Regions from separate parts of the Homo sapiens genome. Here region 1 is linked to region 2. The links are contacts of gene promoters, found by promoter capture Hi-C in blood cells and fetal thymus (Javierre and others, 2016). All regions are on one chromosome and are shown on one strand. Each heading gives the region's core, a stretch centred on a gene start or on the middle of the fragment in contact. The rest is flanking DNA. Distances are from core to core; before and after follow the strand shown.

The links. The method cuts DNA at HindIII sites, captures the fragments that hold promoters and counts their contacts. A CHiCAGO score of 5 or more calls a contact.
Region 1: a contact is called between a fragment that was not itself captured here and the fragment with the promoter of PARP4 in region 2, in 1 of 17 cell types (monocytes). The highest score is 5.3, in monocytes.

The regions. Positions count from the first base shown.
Region 1 is chr13:25,277,075-25,283,342 of GRCh38, reverse strand. All of the region lies in intron 1 of MTMR6 (myotubularin related protein 6), which reads left to right. Among named protein-coding and RNA genes, the nearest start is that of MTMR6, 7.3 kb to the left of the region's middle. The HindIII fragment of the contact is 3,570 bases long and covers 3,200-6,268 here.
Region 2 is chr13:24,510,124-24,516,118 of GRCh38, reverse strand. It overlaps PARP4 (poly(ADP-ribose) polymerase family member 4), which reads left to right and starts at 3,341. Exons shown (of 34, transcript NM_006437.4): 1 at 3,341-3,413. The region is part of intron 1 of LOC105370117 (a long non-coding RNA gene); the gene reads right to left. RefSeq lists a silencer at 3,184-3,343. The HindIII fragment of the contact is 3,630 bases long and covers 734-4,363 here.

The DNA of each region.
Region 1 (6,268 bases), core at 3,735-6,234, 770 kb before region 2:
GGTGAGGAAACTGAAACCCTGAGAGAATTAATAAAATAACTTGTCCTGGCTCACACAGTTAGTTCTACCAAAGAAGAGGTGGAGGTGGGAACTTGAATGTAGGTCTTTCTGATAGCAAGCCTATTCTCTTAACCACACTCTCTTGCCTCACAGAATAATAATCTAATCAAGAGATTTGATTAGTCAGTTGGGGCAGTGTGAGTAAGAACAGAGAGGAGGGGTGGATAGAAGAAGCTTAGGTGGTCAGATTTTTTTCTAGTAGCTAGCTGAATGTGAGGATCTAGTGTGAGGGAAAAGGTCTGGCCTTGAGTAGATTTGGGAGGGAGTTGTTTGTGTTTAGGTAAATCATTGAAATTTCTATTGTGAATGAGTTTATGCAAGGAGAATATGTTGAGACTCTGTGGAGAAAAGTCTAAACACTTAAAAAGGGACAAGCAGGCCGGGCATGGTGGTTCACACCTGTAATCCTAGCACTTTGGGAGGTCGAGGCAGTAGGATCACTTGAGGTCAGGAGTTTGAAACCAGCCTGGCCAACATGGTGAAACCCTGTCTTACTAAAAATACAAAAAATTAGCTGGGCATGGTGGCGGGCACCTGTAATCCCAGCTACTTGGGTGGCTGAGGCATGATAATCACTTGAACCCAGAAGATGGAGATTGCAGTGAGCCGAGATCGTGCCACGGCATCCAGCCTGGGTCACAGAGCAGCACTCTGTCTCAAAAAAAAAAAAAGAAAAAAGAAAAAAGAAAAAAGAAGAGGGCGAGCAAGCAGAGGAGGAGAAGCCGGATGCATTTGGAAGAGGTGAAGCACAGATGGGAAGGTGACAGTCTTCCGTGTTCTAATTTCCTTCTCTGCTCCATCCTCTGGCTGCTTCCTCCTCCTTGGGCCAGGCACTGTTCTAGGTTCAGACAAAAACTCCTGCCCTTATAACTTATCTAGTTGGAGAAGAGGTAACAATAAACAAAATTAAGTTCAATGTATTGTATGTTAGATGGTGGTAAATGCTGTGGATAAAAATAAAGCAAGCCAGGGCTCTGAAGAGTATGAGGGTTGAGGAGGGGGTTTAAGGGAGGACTGCTATAAATTGAGTGGTTAGGGAAGCTCTTACAGAGAAGGTGACTCTTGAGTATAAACCTGAAACTGGTGAGGGAGTAAGCCATCCCCACATGGGGGATGGCGGGGAGAGTCCCAACAAAGGGAACAACAGGGGCAAAAACCCTTTGAGGGCATGCCTGGTTGCTAAGAACAAGCAAGACAGCTAGAGCAGGGTGAGTGAAGAAGAGCACAGTAGAAGATTAAAGTTGGGGGACAGGGGCAAGTTACTGTAGTCTTGAAGGCCACTGTAAAATCTTTGCTTTTTTTGAGTGAGATAGGAAGCCATTGATGGAATAAGCAAAGTAAGAAAAAACTGAAAAGTGCCCACTGGATTTACGATCTGAGGTTACTCTCTCCCCTCTTGAGGTCCATGACTGTTTCATTTGATAATTTATGCAGCCAGACACTGTTCTAGAAATTGGGATACATGAACAGAAACCATAATCTCTGCCCTCCACTTCCTGCACACAACTTGATGTGCTTTCTTTTTGAAAGCTAATTCTTGGCAGGATGTCAGTGTGAAATGATTCTGAGAGTCCTAGATGAGTGCCTGGCTATAGGGAAGGAGTGCGACAAGCCAGAGGAACAGTGATGGTGCACTTTCTGCTTCAGTAGCCACAGCGTCTATTGTTATGTAGTTGTAGAATAAGTACAACTGTTGGTCACAGAAGTCTGAAGAAGGCCATTGGTCCCTTCCTGTCCCAGAGGCCACTTTTTCCTCAGGGATAAAGAGGTGTCTGAATTTTCTGAATGTGATTCTGTTTGTGTGACTCCCTGTGTTTTTCATTTGGAATCTTTTCTTCTTTTTTTTCTTTTCTCTTCCTTTCCTTCCTTTTCCTTTCCTCTTTTCTCTTTCCCCTTTCCTTTCTCCTTTCTTCTTTGTCCTTTCTCCTGTCTTTCTCCTTTCCTTTCCAACAAGATCTTGCTCTGTCACCTAGGCTGGAGTGCAGTGGTATGATCATAACTCATTGCAGCCTCTACCTCCTGGGCTCAAACGATCCTCCTGCCTTTACCTCCCAAGTAGCTGGGTCTGCAGGAGCATGCCACCATGCCTGGCTAATTAGAAAATAATTTTCTTTTTCTGTAGAGATGAGGGTGTCACTATGTTGCTCAGACTGGTTCTCAGACTCCTGGTCTCAAGCAATCCTCCTGCCTTGGCCTCCCAAAGTGTTGGGATTACAAGCGTAAGCTACTACACCTGTAGTGGCCCCAACATTTTCTGAGTGTGATTCTGTATGTGTGGGGTTCTCTGTGTTTTCCAGTTCTAATTTTATAATTGGCTGAAATTTGAACTTTCTGCCTGGACCATTAGGGTACCTTTTAGTGCAGGCCCATAGTTGGCAACAATTCAACTAAATAGTCCTTAAAGTAATGTGTGTTGGCATTTACCATTCCTCACCAAAGCGACATCTTCCAATTCCTTTCTCCTTGCCACATTTTCGTTTTTCGTTTGTTCTTTCTTTTCCCAAAGTCTTTTTTTCTTTTTTTTCATTTACTTTTTGGCTGTGATGATACCTATAATTTAAGGATCCTAATAGTTTCTTAGTACTTCAGTGTTAGTGACCAGAAAGAATTGTAGTTGCTTCCTAAACATCTGACTTAATACATTTCCAAGAACAGACTGGGGAAAATCTGTAGCAACATCTGTAAAATACTTTTAGTTCCTTGCTGAAAGGGGGAAATATAAAGAAGCAGTTGGTTTTTAGAAGTTGACTAAGTCTGTGGTTTGAAATTTGTATGCCAATGATTTTAGCAAAGAAAAACATTTGATTTCCCCTCCTTAGGGGTGAGGGGTGGGATTTGCCACAAAGAGCAAAATAATCAGTGTATTTTCTCAGAAATTCTCTTATTTTCTTGAGAACTTTAGTGTAAATACTAAATAAATGTTGTGGAATGATTTCAGATTAATTTCACTATCTGTCACATTCATATGGAGATTACCCATTGAAGCAGTTGTATGTAATGATTTTCTGTTATATAGATTTGAATATAAGTTGGTTTATGCTAAGATAGTCCTCAGTTTGTTATATTAAAGACATTCCTTTCAGACATTTTCTTCTCTGTACTACTTTATCTTAGTGAATGGCAACCAGTGTGACAAGCTTAAAACCCTTAAGGAATCTCTGTTTTTCCTCCTTTCTTCCTTCCGTTATCAGTTTTGTTATTATCTCAAGATGGACTTCCTCTCTGTCACAGCTTACTCCAGGCCCTAATTATATCAGCCAGTCACTTAGATGGCTTCATTAGCTTCTTACCTGGTTGCCCTTAATCAACTCAGCATTTTCTCCACATTCACACTGGAATGATCTTACAAGCCATATTTCCTAATGGACTACTGTGCTTAAAAACCTCTGTATCTTTTTTAATCTACAGCACAGATTTTGTACCTTAACATATGGTTTTTTTTTCATCAGATAAACCTCTGCTATTGAGACATAAATGTTATATTTCCTCTGTTGAGAATTTTGTATTTTCCCTATTCCCATTAGTGAAGAACATTTTGCTGATCTGTGCTTTCATCATTTACAGTAGTTTCTTCCAACTATGGAGCACCTTAAAATATGGAATTTGCCTTTTAAACTCCATACGCATCCTTCTTCCTTTCTCCATTTGAACTTATCTGGATAGTAGCTTGACATAGAGGACTGTCAGGGCTCTACCTACTTGACTAGATTACTAACTACAGTAGTTTTGCAAATATTTACTTGAGCACAAATATTATTGCTTATATTTATTAGGCAAATAAAGTACCTGTATTAGTCCATTTTCACACTGCTATAAAGAACAACTCAAGACTGGGTAATTTATAGAGGAAAGAGGTTTAATTGACTCAAGTTCCACATGGCTGGAGAGGCCTCAGGAAACTTACAATCTTGGTGGAAGGTGAAGGGAAGCAAGACACGTCTTCTCATGGTGGCAGGAGAGAGAGAGAGCAAAGGGGGAAAGTGTCCCACTTTAAAACCATTAGAACTCATGAGGACTCACTGTGAAGAGAGAACAGCATGGGGGAAACCACCCCCATGATCCAATCACCTCCCACCAGGTCACTTCCTGCACACATGGGGATTACAATCCAAGATGAAATTTGGACGGGGACACAGAGCCAAACCATATCAGTACCTGACATTTATTATCCAACCTTTCAGTAGCTTTCTGAAAAGAGATTATTGTCCTTATTTTAGAGATAAAGAAATGAGATACAGATAGATTGGCCCTTAGTTGATAGCCAGTACATTTTTGTTGAGTGAATTAGTAAACTCTTTCCTGATAGTATATATTTATCTACATGTTCTTCAAAGATGTATGTGTGTTTGAGTGTGTGCGTGCATGTAATGGAGTTGTGCATCTGTTTTATTTTATTTTATGACAGAGTCTCGCTCTGTCACTCAAGCTGGAGTGCAATGACTCAGCCTCTGCTCTGTGCAACCTCTGCCTCCAGGGTTCAAGTGATTCTCATGCCTCAGCCTCCTAAGTAGCTGGGATTACAGGTGTGCACCACGATGCCCAGCTGATTTTTTTTTTTTTTTTTTTTTTTTTTGCAGAGTCTTGCTCTTGTGCCCAGGCTGGAGTGCAGTGATGCAATTTCGGCTCACTGCAACCTCCACCTCCTGGGTTCAAGCGATTCTCCTGCCTCAGCCTCCCGAGTAGCTGGGATTACAGGTGCCTGCCCAGCTAATTTTTGTATTTTTAGTAGAGACAGGGTTTCACCATGTTGGCCAGGCTGGTTTCGAACTCCTGACCTGAGGTGATCCACCCTCCTTGGCCTCCCAAAGTGCTGGGATTGCAAGCTGCGCCCGGCTGCTAATTTTTATATGTTTAGTAAAGCAGGGTTTCGCCATGTTGGCCAGGCTGGTCTCAAACTCTTGGGCTCAAGTGATTGCCTTACCTCTGCCTCCCAAAGTGCTGAGATTACAGGCGTGAGCCACCACACCCGGTAGCAGTTGTGCATTTTAAAGGATCAAAGTTGTAATAAGCTCCTTTAAAATGTGGGAGAAATAGATAAGCTGAGGCTGTTAATATTTGGGAAAAGAGCCTAAAGGTAGAGAAGGAAGCTAGCCTCATGTGTGTTAAGAGTCAGAGGAATTAATTTGGAGTTAAAGTTAGAAGAAATGTCAGTTGCATAAGATGAGCAGGTGAACTTATGAAAAATACGGATTCTTAGTCTCCATCTCCTCAGATAACTGAGTGAAGTTGGGGTGAGGCTTTGGATTTGTACTTTTGCAAAGTTTTAGAGGTGATTCATATGAACAGCTAGGATTTGAATCCTGTATAGCTGACCAAAATTAAAGATCTAACAAAGAGAATTTCAGATTATTTTGCATATAAAACTAAGGGGAGTCAGGAAATAGGCTTAGAGTGTTGGAAAGAGCATTTTCACCACAAATTTCCCACCTTGATAAGAGACCCAGCCAGAAAGAACTATACAGTTCTAGAGGAGTGATTTTATTCTAATCGAATGATGGAGTGGGGATAGAGGATTGAAAGTCCAGACATGTACTACACACAGAAAAAAAACCCAAAACCAAAAACTGAACTATACCTATGTGTTCTACTAGTAGTTTTCTATTTGCTTTTAGTTTGTTGCTGGTTTATTCAAGAATTACTGAATGAATACCTACTGTTCACCCACTGTGTAGGGAAAAGATAGCAGAGAGATGAGGAAAAGTATAATGGGATAAAGAAGAATCTTATTTAATAAATCAAATGATTTCAACAAAAGGGATCACTGGTAAATTGGGCACACCTTCTGGTTTTCACCTGGGGGAATAATTTTTCTGTGGCCGTTCATCTTAGTTCAACAAACATTTATTGTGTCAGACACTCTACTAACCGTTAGGAGATATTCATGCATAAATGAAAGACAGTCTTTGCCCTGGGCTATGTTAGTCTTTAGTGGAAAAGACAGATACATGAACAGAGGCTTTCATTATAATTTAGGAATTACTTTAATAGTGGTGAAAGGGGCAGATTTAAAAATATTTAGGTGATAAAAATGGTAGGAATTGGTGATTGATTGAATGTTGGGGGTTGAGAAGAAGTCATAGGATCATTCACGGATTTCCAGTGTGGGTGACTTGATAAGGATGGAGGAGTAACATTAACTCACATCCAAAATACAGAATTAGAAATGTATTTGTGAGGGGTGAGAGGGGAAATCAGTTTTGCGTTCAGT
Region 2 (5,995 bases), core at 2,092-4,591:
TTGGACTTACAACAAAACATCCTGGAAACCTAATGAGTCTATACAGCAAAGGGATTATCACATCCACTACATTCTAGAATGCCTGACCAATGATGAATGAAGTTGAATAGATAGTAAAGGATTTCTAGCTTGAATCTTTGTTGTAATAAGAGCAGAACAATACCATAATAGTTGTCACACCTGTATTTTTGCTTTCTTCAAAAATAGCAATAATTATATAGTAGTTGGATGGTTCTTCAAGCATTCTATAGGTTTTTATTACACATTTTTTTTAGATGGGATGACTCTATCACCCAGGCTGGAGGGCAGTGGCACAATTACAACTCACTGTAGCCTCAACCTCCAGGTCTCAAGTGTTCCTCCTGCCTCAGCCTCCTAGGTAGCTGAGATGACAGGCACATGCCACCATACCTGGCTAATTTTTGCATTTTTTGTAGAGATGGGTTTTCACCATGTTGCCCAGGCTGGTCTTGAACTCCTGGGCTCAAGCAATCCACCTGCCTCAGCCTCCCAAAGTGCCAGGATTACAGGCATGAGTCACCGTGCCTGGCCTATCATTTCTTGGAGGAGAGTTTTAACAGATATAGAATTCATGGTTGCCGGTTTGTTTGTTTTCTTTCAGCACTTTATATCATCCCACTGCCTTCTGGCTCCCATGGTAATAGATTGGCTGTTAATCTTATTCAAGTTCCTTTGTATGTAGTGATCATTTCTGTCTAGCTGCTTTTAAGCTTCTCTCTGTCTTTGGCTTTCAACAGTTTGATTATTAATATAACTCTATTGTGGACTTTTTGAGTTTATCATACTTGAAGTTCATGGAGCTTCTCTGAAGTGTTACATTATGTATTTTAACAAATTGGGGACTTTGGAGCCACTGTTTCTTCAGATACTCTTCCTGCCACCTTCACCCTCATCTTTCTTTCTGGGACCCCCTTTATGCATATGCTGATACACTTGATGGTGTCCACAAATCTTTTGGACTTTGATCTTCATTCTTCTACTTTCTGCTCCTCAGAGTTAATAATTTCAACAGTTTTATCTTCGAGTTTGCTCATTCCTTCTCTTACCTGCTCAAATCTACTCTGGAGCATCACTTGTGTATTTTTCATTTAAGTTATTGTATTTTTTTCTTTTTCTTTTCTTCTTCTTTTTTTTTTTTTTGAGACAAGATATTGCTCTGTCACCCAGGCTGGAGTGCAGGAGTGTGATCTTAGCTCACTGCAGCCATGAACTTCTTGGCTCAAGTGATCCTCCTGCCTTAGCCTCCTGAGTAGCTAGGGCCACAGGCATGCACCACCATGCCCGGTTAATTTTGTAATTTTTTTGTAGAGAGGGGATCTCCCTATGTTGCCAAGGCAAACTCTTGGTCTCAAGCGATCCTCCCGCCTTGGCCTCCCAAGACACTAGGATTACAGGCATGAACCACCATGCCTGGTCCTATTGTACTTTTTAACTACACAATTTCTTTTTGGTTCTTTTCAGTTCCAAAATGTGTTTGGTTCCTTTTATAATTTCTATCTCTTTATTAATATTCCTTATTTGTTTTTTAAATAATTTCAACTTTTATTTTAGATTCAGAGGGTACATGTGCAGGCTTGTTACCTACATATAATTCGTGGTGCTGAGGTTTGGGGTATGACTGAGCCCCTCACCCGGGGACTGAGCATAGTACCCAATAGTTTTTCAACCCTTGCCCCTCCCCCTCCCTCCCTGTCTAGTTGTCCCCAGTGTCTATTGTTGCCATCTTTATATCCATGAGTACCCAGTGTTTAGCTCCCACTTACAAATTAGAACATGTGGTATTTGGTTTTCTGTTCCTTCATTAATTCACTTACGACAATGGCCTCCAGTTGCAGTCACGTTGCTGTGAAGGACATGATTCCATTCATTCTTTTTATGGCTTCGTAGTATTCCATGGTGCAAATGTACCACATTTTCTTTATCCAGTCCATTGTCGATGAGCACCTAAGTTCATTCCATGTCTTTCCTATTGTGAAGCGTGCTGTGACGAACATACTAGTGCATGTGTCTTTTTGGTAGAATGAGTTCTCTTGTTTTGAATATGTACCCAGTAATGGGATAGCTGGGTTGAATAGCAGTTCTGTTTTCAGCACTTTGAGAAATCTTCAAACTGGTTTCCACAGTGGTTCAACTAATTTACATTCCCACTGACAGTGTATAAGCATTTCCTTTTCAATAAAGCCTTGCCAGCATCTGTTGTTCCTTGACTTTTTAATAATAACCATTCTGACTGGTGTAAGATGGTATCTCATTGCAGTTTTAATTTGCACTTTTCTGATAATTAGTTATGCTGGGCTTTTTTTCATGCTTGTTGACCATTTGCACATCTTCTATTGCATATTCTCTATTTATTGAGACTTTGTTCTCCTGGTTGTTTCTTTCAGTTATTTTTCTATGTTTCCTTTCACTTTTTGTCCATGTTTAAGACAGTTTATTTGAAGTATTTGTCTAATAATTCCTATGTCTGTGCTTCCTCAGCTCAGGGACAATTTCTGTTCATTTCTTTTTTCCTTTGAATTGGCCATTTTTTCGCCTTTTTTTTTGCATGCCTCATAATTTTTTGTTGAAGATTGGACATTTTGAGCATTACGATGTGGTAACTCTAGGAATCAGTCTCTCTCCTCCCCCAGAATCTCTTGTTGTTTCTTAGACAACCCTATAGAGTAGGTTGTAATGATGAAACTTGGTAAATTACCTTGTCCCCAGCCCCCTTGGTAATAAATTGTGGAGTCAGGATTCAACCCCATACCCTTTCCACTGTATTCTCTACTCTATCCTTTCTATTCTCATTTTATTCAGTATCCTAAAAATCTGAATCTTCCCCATTGCTTTATTCCCATTTCAGTGAATCTCAGATCTGTATCTCCAGCCCCCTGCCTCTCTTGAATGGCAGATAAATATATTTCCAACTAGTTACACTGTCACGAATTTCAAACGCAGGAAGGCTTAAAGTAAATTTATTATCTCACTCTCCTGTTTCCACGAACTTTCCCGAAATTTTCTTCTTTCCCGGCCTTGTGAATCCCTTCCATTTCTCAGTTAAAGGACAGCACCATCCACCCACCTCTCTCAAAGCCGAGCTTTGTATTAATCCTCATTGACAAAATCCCTCCTGAAATATGAAACTGAAAGCCCTGAACCCTCCGGCTGATCTTGGAAGAGAAACCCCGCCAGAGGCCGGGGACCCGCTCCCCACCTGGCGGACCCGATTCCGGGCGCGTTCCGGCTATCGTCCCTGCTTGGGACGCTGCGCCCGCCTGGTGCGGGGCGGGGTTCCGGCGCAGTGGCGCCCGCCCAGCCCCGGGGGCAGGGAGAGCCTAGATTACGGAAGTACCGCGAGCAAGGAGCGCGGAATCGGGGAGCGTCCGGAGCTAGCTGGATCCTCTAGGCAGGTGCGTGGGCGCTGCGGGGTGGGGGGCTGCAAAGGTCCCTGTAGTCCTAGCCAGGAAGTGGCCCGCGTACTACTTTCCCGCCAGTGGCTGCACCCTTGCCCTGCGCGGCGTTGGCGCTGTGGGCCTGACGGCGCTGCTAGGCTCGGGAGTGGACTAGCTAGTGCAGCCAGCGCCCTCGGGGAGGGATATTGCGGTCGTTCCGCTCTGCCCCGCGGCGCAGCCCTGGTGACGAGAAACCGGGTGCGGTGGGGGGCGCCCACCGGAGCCGACAGTCACACCAAGTCTCCGCACCCCGTGCGGTGCGGTTCGCAGTAGCACGCGTTGTTTCTTGTTTCCAGTATGCCAAACGGCCTTCTTTCCTAAAGTTAGGTTTCGAATTGTGCAAAAAGTAAGGTGGTTTGGTGAGTAATCAGGAAGTACTATCTGACCTCGTGAGTCATTGGGAACACCGTGATAGAAACAATGTGTTTGTTGAGGTCCAAAGTTGAAAACCTCTAACTCAGTTAAGTAATTCCTGCTAGGAGGGCCGAATGGTTCACCCAGGGATCGAGTTGGTAGATCACAGGTTCTAGAAAACTAAGGCGCTGCTAAATATTCAAGCCCAAGCACTTTCAATTCTGGACTGCTGGATGACAACAATTATATGACAATATCCAAGCATAGTGCTATGATAAAGGGGAAGTTCGCTCTGAGATGTGCGTGTTGCAGACTCATTACATCTGACTTTATCATTTATTAAGTAAACATTAGGTCTTGTTTGTGTGCGTAGAGCTACTGTATATCATGTAGGAGTGAAATAAAAGTAGTACCTTTGTTGTTTAAGGGTTTAATAAACCCATTAGGGAGGTGCATTACTGATGCCATTTGAGTCCAAAATGCAAATAGTGTCAGAAGGCTTTTCTGTAATCCTGGGCTTTAATGGATACGTGAGAGTTTTTAGTAAGCAAGCTTTTATTGAATGCCCACTGTATATCAAAAGTGATCTTAGCGTGTGCTGACTCACACACTTCGGAAGGCGGAGGCTGTAGAATCAAGACTGCCCAGAAAGGGACTCCTCAGGGTTTTCCGAGAGGAGGAAATGCCAGTGGTAAAGACGAAGACCTGTGAAGCAGGAAGCCACTTGATTCCACCTACACCAATGGTTTATGGAGCAGCCAAGAGTTTGTGAGGAGGCGCGCTGAGGGTTTCTTAGGAATCGGGGCTGTTCCCTGCTGTCTTTGGGTGGAAGACACTCTGTGAATGTTATTTGGGGAAGAAGCTGGGAAGGGGGACAGGCTGGAGTGACTGTGCAGATTTGCCTTAGAGAATAACCAGCCCCTAGCCCAGTGTCCGCCACATCTCATATGTACGTAATCAGCGCTGATGAAAACATGAACTAACTCTGTGTTTAGAGAACACTTTGAAACAAGGAAGAACTAGTGGCGCATGTCGGTTAGGCGCTGTTAACCCAGAAGAGGGCTGGCATTTTACAGAGACTAGAGATGAATCTGTGGAAAGAGAGAAGTCAAGACCTGACTTGAGATTTCACGAAACCCAAAGTGCGCCTTTCCATACCTCCCACGCAGCCGCAGGTGCTAAGAACAGACCGCAGATTTATGTTTAAAATGTTTTTACTCTGGGCCGGGCGTGGCAGCTCACACCTGTAACCCCAGCACTCTGGGAGGCTGAGGCAGGAGGATGGCTTGAGCCCAGGAGTTTGTGACCAGCCTTGGCAACATAGTAAGAACCCTGTCTCTACCAAAATTAGCTGGGCATGGTGGTGCAGGCCTGTGGTCCCAGCTACTAAGTAGGCCGGGTGAAAGGATTGCTGGGAGGGAGGTCGAGGTTGCAGTGAGCTGTGACAGTGACCACACCACTGCACTCCAGCTTGGGAGACAGAGCCAGACCCTGTCTCAAATAAAATAAAATGTTTATACTTTGATTTCACAACTATGTGTATGTACTTAATGCCACTGAACTGTACACACAGTTTTAAAAACTGTACCACAATTTTTAAAAGGCTAAAAAATGTTTATACTCCTTGATTCAGTAATTCCATTTCTGGCCATCAACTCTAGGGAAACTATGACAGAGATGTGGCAAAAAAATATATGTACAAGCATTTTAATTAAAGTGTATTTCTAATAGTGAACACTTTTTTTTTTTTTTTTTTGAGACGGAGTCTCGCTCTGTCGCCCAGGCTGGAGTGCAGTGGCGGGATCTCCGCTCACTGCAAGCTCCGCCTCCCGGGTTCACGCCATTCCCCTGCCTCAGCCTCCCAAGTAGCTGGGACTACAGGCACCCGCCACTACGCCCGGCTAATTTTTTGTATTTTTAGTAGAGACGGGGTTTCACCGTTTTAGCCGGGATGGCCTCGATCTCCTGACCTCGTGATCCGCCCGCCTCGGCCTCCCAAAATGCTGGGATTACAGGTGTGAGCCACCGCGCCCGGCCAATAGTGAACACTTTTAAGTAACCAAGTATCTGATGACTTGGGGAAGGATGAAATAAACGCAAAGCTTATGTAACCACTAAAAACACCTTCAAAGAATATTTAGTGACATGGGGAGGATATCACTAAAAGCTAAATAAGCTGTGAAAGT